Linked DNA regions of Homo sapiens: regions 2, 3, 4 and 5 are each linked to region 1. Evidence: promoter capture Hi-C in 16 types of primary human blood cells and fetal thymus (Javierre and others, 2016). All regions are on one chromosome and are shown on one strand. Each heading gives the region's core, a stretch centred on a gene start or on the middle of the fragment in contact. The rest is flanking DNA. Distances are from core to core; before and after follow the strand shown. Region 1 holds the start of CSTF3 (cleavage stimulation factor subunit 3). Region 2 has its middle 9.0 kb from the start of LINC02721. Region 3 overlaps FBXO3 (F-box protein 3). Region 4 overlaps EIF3M (eukaryotic translation initiation factor 3 subunit M). Region 5 overlaps CD59 (CD59 molecule (CD59 blood group)).

The links. Contacts are between HindIII fragments. The CHiCAGO score rates a contact against its expected background, and 5 or more counts as called.
Region 2: a contact is called between a fragment that was not itself captured here and the fragment with the promoter of CSTF3 in region 1, in 1 of 17 cell types (naive B cells). The highest score is 6.8, in naive B cells.
Region 3: a fragment that was not itself captured here is called in contact with the fragment with the promoter of CSTF3 in region 1 in 2 of 17 cell types (naive CD8 T cells and M0 macrophages); the score reaches 5.5 in naive CD8 T cells.
Region 4: a contact is called between a fragment that was not itself captured here and the fragment with the promoter of CSTF3 in region 1, in 5 of 17 cell types (total CD8 T cells, non-activated CD4 T cells, total CD4 T cells and 2 more). The highest score is 8.2, in total CD8 T cells.
Region 5: a fragment that was not itself captured here is called in contact with the fragment with the promoter of CSTF3 in region 1 in 4 of 17 cell types (M1 macrophages, M2 macrophages, endothelial precursors and 1 more); the score reaches 6.1 in M1 macrophages.

What each region holds. Positions count from the first base shown.
Region 1 is chr11:33,160,163-33,162,884 of GRCh38, reverse strand. CSTF3 (cleavage stimulation factor subunit 3) reads left to right here and starts at 1,405. Exons shown (of 21, transcript NM_001326.3): 1 at 1,405-1,586. The coding sequence starts at 1,560. CSTF3-DT (CSTF3 divergent transcript) reads right to left here and starts at 1,228. Exons shown (of 4, transcript NR_034027.1): 1 at 1,104-1,228. RefSeq lists enhancers at 1,021-1,440, 2,176-2,722. The HindIII fragment of the contact is 5,866 bases long and covers 1,146-2,722 here.
Region 2 is chr11:33,829,979-33,832,700 of GRCh38, reverse strand. No RefSeq gene overlaps it. Among named protein-coding and RNA genes, the nearest start is that of LINC02721, 9.0 kb to the right of the region's middle. The HindIII fragment of the contact is 900 bases long and covers 912-1,811 here.
Region 3 is chr11:33,750,531-33,753,252 of GRCh38, reverse strand. It overlaps FBXO3 (F-box protein 3), which reads left to right. Exons shown (of 11, transcript NM_012175.4): 7 at 1,646-1,730; 8 at 2,592-2,714. Among named protein-coding and RNA genes, the nearest start is that of CD59, 15 kb to the right of the region's middle. The HindIII fragment of the contact is 3,344 bases long and covers 1-2,722 here.
Region 4 is chr11:32,588,166-32,590,887 of GRCh38, reverse strand. EIF3M (eukaryotic translation initiation factor 3 subunit M) reads right to left here. Exons shown (of 11, transcript NM_006360.6): 3 at 2,156-2,294; 4 at 1,753-1,876; 5 at 1,247-1,341. Among named protein-coding and RNA genes, the nearest start is that of EIF3M, 5.7 kb to the right of the region's middle. The HindIII fragment of the contact is 1,687 bases long and covers 544-2,230 here.
Region 5 is chr11:33,720,676-33,723,397 of GRCh38, reverse strand. CD59 (CD59 molecule (CD59 blood group)) reads left to right here. Exons shown (of 4, transcript NM_000611.6): 2 at 935-1,019. The coding sequence starts at 953. Among named protein-coding and RNA genes, the nearest start is that of CD59, 14 kb to the left of the region's middle. The HindIII fragment of the contact is 2,118 bases long and covers 286-2,403 here.

The DNA of each region.
Region 1 (2,722 bases), core at 156-2,655:
TAGGCGAGAAATGCTTGCAGACATCTAACGATGACGCTTAAATGGAAGAGCAGTTTGAGAAGATTTAGTATCATTTAATTTTTTATTTTTTATTTTTTTTGAGACGGAGTCTCGCTCTGTAGTCCAGGCTGGAATCTCGGCTCACTGCAACCTCCGCCTCGCGGGTTCAAGCGATTCTCCTGCTTAAGCTTCCCGAGTAACTGGGACTACAGGCGCAAACCACCACGCCCGGCTACTTTTTTTGTATTTTTGGTAGAGACGAGATTTCACCAAGTTGGCCAGGTTGGTCCTGAATTCCTGACTTTATTTATTTATTTTCTGAGACGGAGTCTCGCTCTGCCGCCCAGGCTGGAGTGCAGTGGCGCGATCTCGGCTCACTGCAAGCTCCGCCTCCCAGGTTCACGCCAGTCTCCTGCCTCAGCATCCGGAGTAGCTGGGACTACAGGCGCCCGCCACCACGCCCGGCTAATTTTTTTTTGTGTGTGTGTGTATTTTTAGTAGAGACGGGGTTTTACCGTATTAGCCAGGATGGTCTCATCTCCTGACCTTGTGATCCGCCCGCCTCAGCCTCCCAAAGTGCTGCGATTACAGGCGTGAGCCACCGCACCTGGCCTAGAACTCCTGACTTTAAATGATCCATCCGTTTTGGCCTCCCAAACTGCTGGGATTACAGGCGTGGGCCACCGCGCCCAGTCAATCTCATTTAATCTTAATGCCAGGTACTGTTCTAACACTTTTCTATGTATAATTTATTTCACTTGCAGGTACTATTATTATTCCCATCTATAGGCCAGAAAGCTGAGGTACGAAGTTTAATTACCAGAGTTACTTATCTTCGTTAAAATCCAAGCAGTCTGGGCTACAAACAATTATACCTACTTTGCAGTCAAGGAACCAAGCTGAGATGTTGAGCTGAAAACCCAGGTCTCAGACTTCAAAGCTTTCTACACAAGAGTCGACGGTGGCAGTAAAAATTAATGGGGGCTTGATCTATCCCTCCCACCCCCAAGAAAAGTAAAAAGCAGGAGCTGGGACCAGAGAAAACCTCCACGGAGTCCTTATCCCCTAAATATAAGAGGCATTTAACGTTTAGCATTGCTGACCTGCAATCAGGCTTCAACTGTGAGTAGCCAGGCTCTAAAGCTTGATAACTGAATTCCAAAAAGCGCGCGAGCCTCCAGGCGAAACAGCTTCCCGCCTTCCAGCCGGTTGGAGCCGGCTCAGCAACAGCCTCTCCAAGCCAGGGTAGTGACGTCAGCCCAGGAATTGGGCCCGCCCCGGGATCTCGCTGCTTTCTGCACGCTCGGAATAACCAGAGTCGCGAAATTAGCCCCGCCCACTGCCCCGGAAGTTAATGCGGAAGCCACACACCTCCTCCTCGGCCGGCAGGGGCGCAGCCATTTTAATTCATATTTGAGTGGGCGGTGGCGATTGGTGTTGGCGGTCTGGCTCAGCTGGGCAGGGGGTAACTTTACTGATTTGGGGGTGGTTTTTAGTTTAATTTTTCTTTTCTAGCTTCCCATCGACGGTCAGTGCGCACGTTGTAATCAGCTGAGGCCATGTCAGGAGACGGAGCCACGGAGCAGGTGAGGAAGGAGAGTGGTGGGGCCTCGTGGCGACCTCTTCTCCACGTCTGTTCCTCCGACTGCTCCAGACATGTTCGGCTGAGGAAGGAATTGGGTCTAGTGAACCCGGGGGACAGGGTATATAGAAGAGTGGTGGGAATGGGGAGCAAGATCTAAGATTTAATTTTTTTTTTTTTACTTCTCTCTCTTAGGCATGAATACGAGTAAATACTTGATTTAGACAATAGCGGTAGGCTGCTTCGTCCTATTTAGATTCATGGGACTACTCCAGATGGGATGCTTTCCTTTGATATCGTTTTGGTATTAGAGTGGATAGGAATTATTTTAACGTGCACCCGACGTTTTAGAAAAACTTGACAGTGTTTCTTTTACCCCGCCAAATATACTGTACCCAGAAATAGGTTACTAGTTTGAGAAATATTTGAGACAAAGCTAATCTGGAGAATTAAGACTTAATGAGAGCGAGTGAAGAAAGAAGCAAGTTATGCTGAGGTTTTGGGAATTTTGTGGCTTTCTTTCGTTTTCTTTTCTTTTAGCCACATTTCGTTTTCATTTTTCCAGCTACATAAACATTGCAGGTATAAGTTGAAAATGAGAAGTCTGTTTTGGCCACTGTAAATAAAAGCATCTGTTTTAATAGTAAATATGAGTGACAACTAAATATTTTAAAATTCACACTTTTAGGTTAGATCAGTGTGATTTGTTTCTTTTGCTCTTTGTATTCAGAATTTTGTAGGATAGTATTTACCTTTTAGTGTGAAAGAGGAAGCTAAATAGTTATGAAAAATGCCATTAAATGTGTTTTTCGATCTAAGTCCTGGTGTGTTTAGATAAATACAGTTTCTAAAATGGAGGCTAGGTAGCCTGCAGTCTCAATTTCCTGAAATTTCCCATTGCCATAGCAACGACATGCACTTAGGTTTTCGTTTTTCAGGTTCCCTAGCTTATAACGTGGAAGATGTTATTGGAGGTTGGCAGAGATGAGGCAAAATAGGAGCGTTCTATTGCATAGTCTGTAAGACTGTAGATTTCATTATGTCGGCAGTTTGATTAAATTGTTTTGTGTTTGCCCGAGGACTGGTTTCAGTCCAGAAATCTTCGCACTATTTACATTTTACATAGTGTTAGCATGCCCA
Region 2 (2,722 bases), core at 112-2,611, 670 kb before region 1:
TTCAGTGCCGAACAACAGTAGGATGGTCGACGCTGAGTTTTTCGGCAACTTCTCATGTAGTTGTAAGAGGATGAGCTTCAGTGATGGCTCTCAATTAGTCATTGTCAGCTTCCGACGGCTGGCCACTACATTCCTCACCTTCAAGGCTCTTGTCTCCTTTGCAAAACTTCTTGCACCACCACCGCACTGTATGTTTGTTAGCAGTTCCTGGGCCAAACGCACTGCTGATGTTGCGAGCTGTCTCCGCTGCCTTACAACCCATTTTGAACTCAAATAAGAAAATCACTCGAATTTGCTTTTTGTCTAACATCATTTCCATAGTCTAAAATAAACATAAAATAAACTAGCAAAAAAACATAAAGCGAGAAATGCCCATTAAAATGATGTATACGGTAACCACATTTATTTACATTCTTAAATGTAAATAAGAATTATGTTCTTAATTTTATCTTTTCTTGCCTTATGTTTTATTCCAATATCAAACGGAAAATTCTAACAATGCAAAAACCGCAATTACTTTTGTACCAACCTAATATCTATATATATATATATACACACATGAATAATTTGTTATATAATTTGATTTTTTTTTTTTTGAGACAGAGTCTTGCCCTGTCACCCAGGCGGGAGTGCAGTGGTGCGATCTCTGCTCACTGCACCCTCTGCCTCCCAAGTTCAAGAGATTCTCCTGTCTCAGCCTCCTGAGTAGTTGGGATTACAGGTATGCACCACTATGCCTGGCTAATTTTTGTATTTTTAGTAAAGATGGGGTTTTTCCACGTTCGCCAGGCTGGTTTCAAACTCCTGACCTCAGGTGATCCACCTGCCTCGGCCTCCCAAAGGGCTGGGATTATAGGCGTGAGCCACAGCACCCAGCCTAATTTGATTTTTTAAAAACCCAAATATAAGCTTCATATTTATTTCTGCAAAATTCCGTCTACTGGATTACACAGTGTCAATTACAGCCTAACTTTCAGTTGAAAAGCTAGAATCTTCAGAGATTCCCCCAGGGGCCATGGAGGATGGGCTGTTGAGGGTCCCTGATTTCCTCTGCTCTTCCAGAGAAGAGCCACCTGCTAGTCTTCTCCCTCTGAGAGAGAGATTAGGCTTCCATGGCAGTGGAGAAGGTAGAGGGGGCACGAGAGATAACTTCCTGAACACCTCTGCCTCTAACTTCCTACATTGTCCTCTCTGATCCTCATACAGCCAGGAGTGGTGAGTCAAGCAGGTGCTATTGTGCCTGATTCACAAGTGAAGTTACTGAGTTATAACGAGGTGAAGGGTCAAGTTCTAGGCACTTCTCCAACTGTAATGTACATGAGGATCACCTGGGGATCTTGTTAAAATGCACATTCTGATTCAGTGGGTTGGGTGTGGGGCCTAAGATTCTGTATTACTAAGAAGCTCTTGGGTGATGCTGGAGACCACGAGCCTCTCGGTGAAACAGCAGGTGAGATGCTTTAGGGCCAGTTCTCTGGATAGAGGTGGGAGTCGCAATCACATTGCCCCTAGCTCCTCCTGCCACTAAATTTGGCCACTTCTATTTGGAAGTTGGGAGAGGATTATCCTATTGCAGTACTGTGTCTAGAGGGGAAGGTGACTCATGTCCCCTGCTCCTTCCCCAGGCAGAACTCAGAGTTCTTTGTGTCTTGTCTGCTCCTTGCCTGAGCTTTTTGGCTATTTCTTTTTCTAAACTTGAATAAAATACAACAGCAAGAAAATAGCAATGACTCCTGTTGGAGTCCAGTATAGCTGAGATCACCTGATTTTAAGTCGGGCTCAGGTGAGGCAACTTGTTATAATGGAAAGCTTTTAGCTTCCAGAGTTAGACACCTGGGTCCAAATCCTGGTTCTGCCCCTTACAAAATATAAATAGAAGGAAAATGTACTTAAATTTCTTGGCTGGGTGCGGTGGCTCATGCCTGTAAGCCCAGCACATTGGGAGGCTGAGGCTGGTGGATCATTTGAGGCCAGGAGTTCATGACCAGCCTGTCCAACATGGCAAAACACTGTCTCTACTAAAAATACAAAAATTAGCCAGGCGTGGTGGTGCATGCCTGTAGTCCCAGCCACTCGGGAGACTGAGGTATGAGAACACTTGAGCCTGGTGGGTGGAAGTTGCAGTGACCTGAGATCGCACCACTGCACTCCAGCCTGGGTGACAGAGCGAGAATTTGTCTCTAAATAAATAAATAAATGAATAATAAATTGGCCTCAGCTAAAGTGGCAGACTTCCATCCTGACCCTTACTCTGCCCAATAACCCCACTGGAGGGCAGCCCATTTCAGGTTACCCTGCAACATCACCAGAATTCTCAGAATGCTCAGTCTGCAATTCCAAGTTATTCCAAAGCTAAGTCAGTCTGATGTTCTGGGAAGAGAAGCTGAAAGCCCAGCACTTAGGGGAAGTTTGGCCTCCAGGGCATCCCTACAGGTTGTACTCACTGATGGGTGGCATGGTGTGGGGGATGATGGGAACTCAGTTGGGTCTGAGGACAGAACCTCCCTATCCCTTGATGTTAAGTTAGCCAGAGCACACCACCACCAGCCCACATATGATGCTAAACCTCCTTTCCCAGGCAGCCCACACCAACTTCTTCCAGGAGTCGATGTTTCCTATGGAAAATGGATTAAATAAGAATCTCCTTGAATTCATCAGACAGCCCTGAACTCTGATGTCCTGTTGGTCCTGATCTTGACTCCACCTCTCTCCTTGAGGGAAC
Region 3 (2,722 bases), core at 73-2,572, 590 kb before region 1:
CAAAAGATTGAGAGACACTGAGAAGAGATGAGGTGAGAAGTTAATGCAGGGAGGAAGGATGAAAAAGGAGCTTCCTTTCAGCTGCCTTGATAAAGCTCCAGAACCATCAGAGAGACCCCAACACATGGGCTTACTTTAAAAGGTAAATTACCTTAGAACATATAAATTGCATCTTGATTCAACTAAGTTTGCTTAGACTGGTAACACACAAAATGGCATATCCTGGTGTTCAGTGTACTAATAATAGATATTTAAGAAACCTGGAATCTGTCAGATAAGTTTAGTAGTGAATGCTGCCTAGTCTGTCCTCATCTTAAAGAATACACTCTGGTACGTATTGTAATAAAATAAGGTAGATTAAAATACACCATGCCAATTTTTTTTATGCAAACCACAAATTTGTTTTTAGTTATATAACTTTTTTCCACAAAATATACATATATATGATTTTTAAAAACTCTTTCAGAGAAAGTACTAGTGCTAAAAACGTAAAATTATACCTTCTATGAATTTTAATGACATTATTTATATAACTTCTTAATATCTTACTCAAAGTAGGTACATGATCAGTGAACCTTGAATACAATAGTGTTTAATAAATATTGGGTCAGAATGGGTCATTAATAGATATTGAGGAAAGAGCCAACTATTATAGTTTGCCTTCTCTCAGTTGATGCCTTTTAAAAGTTTAAAGCCTTGTACCCTTAGATATAAGCCAAATTGTATCTTTTATCATTCCCTAAATAGAATAATTAGTAAACACTATAAATTTAGCATCTGACATTCAGTGTGACAGAGTGTAGAAACTGGGTTAATTGAAACCAGATTACAAAGAAATTCATTGTTGAACAACATTAATTAAAGGACTAATACATTCCAGGCACTGAGATGTATTAACAGTAAATAATGGGGGGTCTGACAGAGTTATGTTAAATATTACCTAGAAGGGGTAAACATTATTAATTCATGTAAATACTTGTTATAATCCAATCATTAGATCACAGATATATGGTCTGGACTAGACTGTTCCAGTAATCCTTTTCTGCTTTGAGCTGGTCACTAAGAAGATGGAGGACCGCTGTGCAATTAAATCTATAGTAGTGTGCAACTAGACCACTTTGGGATTGGCCCGATGCACAGAACTCCACAATGTCATGTCCCTGGTAGATGTCCAGACTGAGCCTGGCTTCTGCCAAAATTTTGTGCTTGAGTCAGGATGTACCTGGACCAGGGACGTCTGAGAATAGGTGCTGATATTTTTCTTGTAGTTTCTTCCTAGTCATAGCTGTATTTTCTTTGTTCTATATGTTCAATAAATTACAGACAGAAGGCTTTTCATTCTTGTACCACAATGAATTAAAGTTTAAAATTTGATTAATTATAAGTGTAAAAAAATAGTCTGAAGGTCATTGGAGGATTCTCTAACAATAGTTGGGGGGATGAAGAGGGGGAGAATCCCAAGGAAATAAGGTGGATAGAATTGAGAATAGAAATTGATCTTATAAATAATTAGTACAATTATATCTATAAATGTTTCTAGTTTTGGTATCACATTCTAAAGCATAGAGGAATTACAATTGTTTCCTGTATAGATTTTACAAAACTATTTGTTCTTTTCTTTTTTTCTCCCTTTCCTGCTTTATAGGTGCTACTTTTACTGACTGGTTTACCTCTTATGTCAAAAATGTTGTATCAGGTGGCTTCCCCATCATCAGAGACCAAATTTTCAGGTATTTTATTTTGGGTCTTTTTGGATTGAAATGATTGTAAATCAGAGAAAAATGATAAGTCACAGATCATGAAATGAAGTTTCCCAAGAAGGTTGATAATAGAACCTCTCTATTGAGGTTGATAATAGAAGATTGTCTTCAGTCTCACTATTTTATTCTCACTTTAAAGCCAAACATCTAAATGCTTAGACAACTGGTATTTTTCCTATCCAGAAGAATCAAGAAAAAGCTGATTTTGATTTAGAAACTATGGGTTAATAGTATCTATATAATTTATTTTTGAAAAACACCAAAAAGTTATTTGGCAACTGATAGATTTATTATGAATAGCAAGTCGGTAACTGTTAATTCCTGGCAAATATTTATTATCTCTAAATGGAACATTCAGGTATTGTAGGGAGTACTGGAGGTAATACTGGTTCATAATAGCCTGGTTGGCAGAAATGATAGATTGATTATACATTAGAGGCTTCTGAGAACAGCATACTTGCACATTTTTATTGTCAGAGCCATCATTTAGCATTGGACATCATGCAGCTGGGTTTTCAGATGTCCCAAAAGTTTCCTTAGCCCTGGAAACTGAATAAGCTCATTTTTGTTTCCAAGCTAATTACCAATCCGTTATTTGAACCACTGATCATTGAACCTTGATTGCTGTCATTACTGATCCAGAGTCACCAAGGTTTTGTAGTTTGTTTCTAGTTTCCTTCAAAGTTTAATAGGACTATACCCAAATATTATTGAACTTTTCTGGGTCTGAAATATGATTTAAATTTTTTGTCCTAAAGTATAACCTATTTTGCATCGTATCTTTTAAATCCTGTAGTTGATTTTAAAATGTTTAATTTTTAAATTACCTAGATATGTTCACGATCCAGAATGTGTAGCAACAACTGGGGATATTACTGTGTCAGTTTCCACATCGTTTCTGCCAGAACTTAGCTCTGTACATCCACCCCACTATTTCTTCACATACCGAATCAGGTGAGAAT
Region 4 (2,722 bases), core at 138-2,637, 570 kb after region 1:
CAGAGCAAGACTCCATCTCAAATAAAAAAAAAAAAGCACAACAAACACCATGTGCATCAACCACCAATATAAATAAAGTCATGAAGGGGGCACCCATAAACTTGAAGCATTTTTACTTAACTGCTAGGTAAAATCTCAGAATTTTACTGATTAAAATATGTATTTTATGTGTTCTAAAGAAGAAAACCAACTCTCAACATTTAGATTGGCAGAATGTCAGAAATGTCGTGTTTAAACAAGTATCCCCTTCCAGTTCCCTACTGTGGGTAGCATTTATCCACTCAGTGCCCAATAAGTGCTATCTTCTTGGGAATGCAATGGTTTACAGATGAGGTTCCTTGCCTTCACTTAGCCTACAACCTTACTTTCAACTAAGGGTGTTAAATGCTAGGATACAAGTAGAGGGTGCTGTAAAAGGGAGGCACTAACCGAAATATGAGAGGGGTGTTTCTGGCAGAGACATGAAGCTGACTATAGTAAGACTACTTAGACAAGGGGTAGGCAAACGTTCTATAAAGGGCCAGAGAGTAAATATTTTAAGCTTTGCAAGCTATATGGTATCTGTTGTAACTAAACTCTTGGCAAAAGCAGGCACAGACAATATGTAAATGAATAGGCATGGATGTAATACCAATGTTATGGACCCTGAAATCTGAATTTCATATAATGTCCACATATCATGAAATATTACCCTTTCTTTGATTTTCTTTCTCAATCATTTAAAAATGTTAAAACCATTCTTAGTACACGGGCTATAGAAGAACCAGTGCCAGCTCCTGGTCCAGACTGGCAAAGAGCATGGTGCTTTTATACCTGACATAGGCTCGCTGGGTCTAGAGTGTGATAAGCAAGAGGAAGGACATGGGTGGAGAGATGGAATATTTACATTAACACAAAGTTTTTTGTAGTCTGCCACTGCACCATCCAAAAATGATGAGATGCTTCACCACATTCACCAAGCTCATGCTACAGCAGTAGGTTGAAGCCCATGTTGGAAAGGCCCCACCTTTCTTTTTTTAGAAAAAAAGCCAAATTTCACTTTTTAAAAAGTTCAAAGATGAGGGAAAACTACTTTTAATCTTTATAGTTATCTTTAACTTTAGGTCAAATTTATAGAAATAGATTTATAGCAACTCTGTGGAGAACAGAGTAAAGCAAAATTACTGGCCCTACTTCTCTTTAAAAAACATCCCCACCTACTTATACTGTCTGTTAAGTGATATGTTAGTTCATTACTTTTGAATACCTCTTCTTACAATCCACAAGTGCCTCATAAAGTAGTCTTAAAAGGGTGTGCTTTTTTTCAGTGGTGAGATTCCAGTCAGAAATCCATTTTCTAACCTACAAGAGATTGACAAAAGGAGAAAACTGAGTAACACATATAAAGTATAACATATAAAAGTACATTTCTGGCTGGGCGTGGTGGCTCACGCCTATAATCCCCAGCACTTTGGGAGGCCAAGGCAGGAGGATCAACTGAAGTCGGGAGTTCGAGACCAGCCTGACCAACATAGAGAAACCCCGTCTCTACTAAAAATACAACATTAGCCGGGCGTGGTGGCGCATGCCTGTAATCCCAGCTGCTCAGGAGGCAGAGGAAGGAGAACTGCTTGAACCCTGGAGGCGGAGGTTGCGGTGAGCTGAGATTGCGCCATTGCACTCCAGCCTGGGCAACAACAGTGAAACTCCGTCTCAAAAAAAAAAAAAGTACATTTCTTATAAGCAGAACAACTATTCCACACAGTAACTCACTTGATCCAGCTCAGTTGGGATGTACTGGATGGCCCCACAAGATGCTGCCACTTTAATAAGGCTGCAATACACTGTGTATCTTACAGGAGTATTCTTATCCATCCCGTGGAAAAGGTTGCTTAACCTGGTTGGTTAACAAACAAATAAACAATGTTTGAAATCAGCAACCAGTTTTAAGTTGAGGTTAGCTCTCACCACAAACCTGTGGCAGGTACCGTTAACAACTTCATATTACAAAGGAGGAAACTAGGGCACAGAAAGGTCAAGCCACTTGCCCAAGGTCACAGCTAATATGAGCCACAGCTGAGAGTCAAGTTCCAGAATTCCTGCTCTGCACCATTAAAAGTTAGTAACATGAAAAAAGCACCTAGAAAAACTGAGTTTCTTTCAGATCTTAACTTACAACTGCAGTCTCAGAGACGGGCGTTCACCTTCGCGAAATTTGACCAGCTTTTCACATAGGCTTTCAATCAAAGCTTCTTGCTTGTCTGGTTCCAGGATCAAGAGTAGGGATACCACACTGTTCATCACACTTTCAACATCTACACAAGTATGGATAACACAATCAACAGTGATACTACAATACTCAATGCGTCTAGTTAAATATGCATTTCCAGTGTTTTAATACAATGAAGACCATCAAATGTAAGACACTTTCGCATTCAGAAAGCAACTTGTATATTTTATTAAAGAGGAAGGAAATTGATACCTAAGATGTGGTTTCTTTTTTTTTTTTTTTTTTTTTTTCAGATGAAGTCTTGCTCTCTTGCCCAGGCTGGGGTGCAGTGGTGCGATCTCGGCTCACTGCAACCTCCGCCTCCCAGGTTCAAGCGATTCTCCCGTCTCAGCCTCCCAAGTAGCTGGGACTACAGGCACCCGCCACCACGCCCGGCTAATTTTTGTATTTTTAGTAGAGACGGGGTTTCACCATATTGGCCAGGCTGGTCTTGAACTCTTGACCATGTGATCC
Region 5 (2,722 bases), core at 95-2,594, 560 kb before region 1:
GATGTGTGAGAAGGAAGGGACAGGAATGATTGTCAGGATTGTCAGTTCCCCAGGGAACTCTGCATTTCTGACTTAGGGAGGGTAGATGACTCACCCTTCCAAGAACCCATCTGTCTGTCCGGGCCTGTGGGGCTCTGGAGAATAGAATATGGAGTACCCTGGTTTACAGGCACTGCCACCTCCTTATTTCAGGATGGGTTCAGGGATGTAGGATTGGAGTTGGGAGATTTCTTAGTTCTGCTATGGATGCTTTGTACTTAGGCAAGTTCAAAACCTCCCTAAGCTTTGGCTTCTTTACTGGGTAAAGTAGGGTTGGAGGCATTTCAGGCTTTCCTTCTTCTCACCTGATGCTATCACTACACATCTAGGCATTCACGTAATGGAAACTTACAAAGTTGCTCAATACCTCTCTTCATGTCCCCAAAGAGAGCAAGCAAGTGTCCCCATTATACTTCTTACAGTGAGGAGCCAGAGCTTCCAGGTATGCTAAGCCATTGCTCCCTGTTCCACTGCTGAATGCATGCTGGTGCCTTCCAGAGTCACCCCTTTGGTCTGATTCACTTAGTGCTGTGGCTCCGAGAAGTGGCCCTCTCTTTCAGCCAGCAGCTTGGGGTGGGGCCAGTAGAGTGGGAACCACAGTGGCTATATGAGTCAATTTGCTCATATTGTCATTTGACTCACTGACCCTGATGGGGAAGATAGTGTTATTCCCACAGTGTGGTAGTACACACTGGGGCTTATAGGGACTGAGCCTACTCAAGGGTATATGGTGCTGTGGGTCAGAGCTGGGGCATGGCCCAGGGATTCAGTGTGCCTTGACTCCCCCTGTAAATGTTCCTCTCAGAAGCCTTCTTGGCCTTCCAGCCCTTGGTTTTTGAGACAACCAGCAGTCATTTGTTCGTTCCTGACATTCCTTCCTGTCCCTTCCTTCCAGGTTCTGTGGACAATCACAATGGGAATCCAAGGAGGGTCTGTCCTGTTCGGGCTGCTGCTCGTCCTGGCTGTCTTCTGCCATTCAGGTGAGTGCTCCAGTCTCAGGACATGGATCTAGGCTGCCTTGGCCATGAACTCCCTTCTTAAGCCTCAGTTTCAGCCCCAGCTGCTCCTCCAGGCCTGGCTTTGGTTCTTTTGCCTTCCAGTGTTACAGGTCTGGGGTTGTATGACAGCTCCTTCCTATGTTATGACCTTGTCCTCAGTGGGGCATCGTCCTGAGTTACAGCCCGTCCTGAGTTACAGCGTGGCTTTTGGCAGGGGTGGGTCAACAATCGGCGGCTGAAGTTTCACTCCTGTCACCATAAGCTGCTTGGGGACACCAATGGATACCATTCTTAGAGTGCTGTGCAAGTCCCTTTGGGGTCCACTCTGCTTAGAGCCATCTGAGCTCAGTCCTTCTGCTCTGAGGCTCCTCCTGTGTTTTAATGATGATGATGGTCATAGTGACAGCAGCAGCAGCTAACTAACCCTGAAGCATTTATGTGCCAGTCACTACTCTAAGCATTTTACGTGTATTTGCTTATTTAATCCTCATGCCAACCTGATGGAGTTGGTGGTATTTTTATCCTTGTTTTACAAGCAACAAGATTGAGGCCTCCCCAAAATTAATAACTTGTCAAATAACACACAGAAGTGGTACACGGGAATGTGAACACACAGTCTGGCAACAGAGTCCCTGCTCTTCCCTCCTGCTCCAGGCCATCTGTCACTGGGCCACCCCCTCTCCTCAGCCACCCCTCCCCTGGTTGCTGGAGGAAATTGTGTGCTTCTGAGTCAACTTCTATAACAGTGGAAACACACATGCTTCATTGTAAAGATCAAGTGTGGTTGTCTGCCTGTGTCATGTTGGTATAATATCTTGGCCACTGCTGGTTTTTTGTTTTTTATAAATATGGTTGGTGGGGGGAGCAGAAAAGAAAGTGGCAATACAGTGAGCAATTTAAAAAAAGATTTCCACACCACTGTAGCATGTCTTAGAATATTAACAGCAACCATATATTCACTGTTTATTGTTTACTGGGGACTGTGCCAGAGCCTGTCTCATTTAAATCCGTCCAGCCATTCCGGGAGGTCGGTACTGTTACCTCCCATATTACAGCTGAGGAAATGAAGGCAAAGTAGTAACTTGGCGCCAGGACACACTTTAATATGTTCTCCCTTTCTGAGCAGAAAGAGAAGTCATGGCACCCCTTCTTCCCCACCTTCCGTGATTCTAGCCAGGGTGCACTGTAATGTGGTTCACCTGTGTTAAAACACTATATTTTTTCTATAATTATTTTTTATTTATTCATTTTTCTTGGTTCCTTCTTTTTTTCTGTCTCTGCTGCTTAAGTTGGAATATTTTCTAGAATTTTAATAGCCCAGTGACATCCTACTTCCAGCAGTCTGCATTTGTTTATGGAGCAAGCTTGGGACCATCAGCTTCTCTGTGACAAGTCTTGGGGTGCACTTCAGCCCTTTCTCAGAGAATTGAGATGTGAAGCTCACATGCCCACAGATGAGAGGCCTTCTTTGCTGCTGCCCAAAAGGGTCTCAGGACCCTGCAGGGGAACTTTCCTCTGAGCTCTGCCTCTTATGGCCCAGGGGAAACCTCGTCTACCCTGGCTTAGTGGCTAAAATATCAAACCATTGTCCACTGACCTATTGCTTGTTTTTTTTTGTTTGTTTTTTTCAGGGGGATGGAGTCTCACTCTGTCGCCCAGGCTGGAGCGCAGTGGCGCGATCTCGG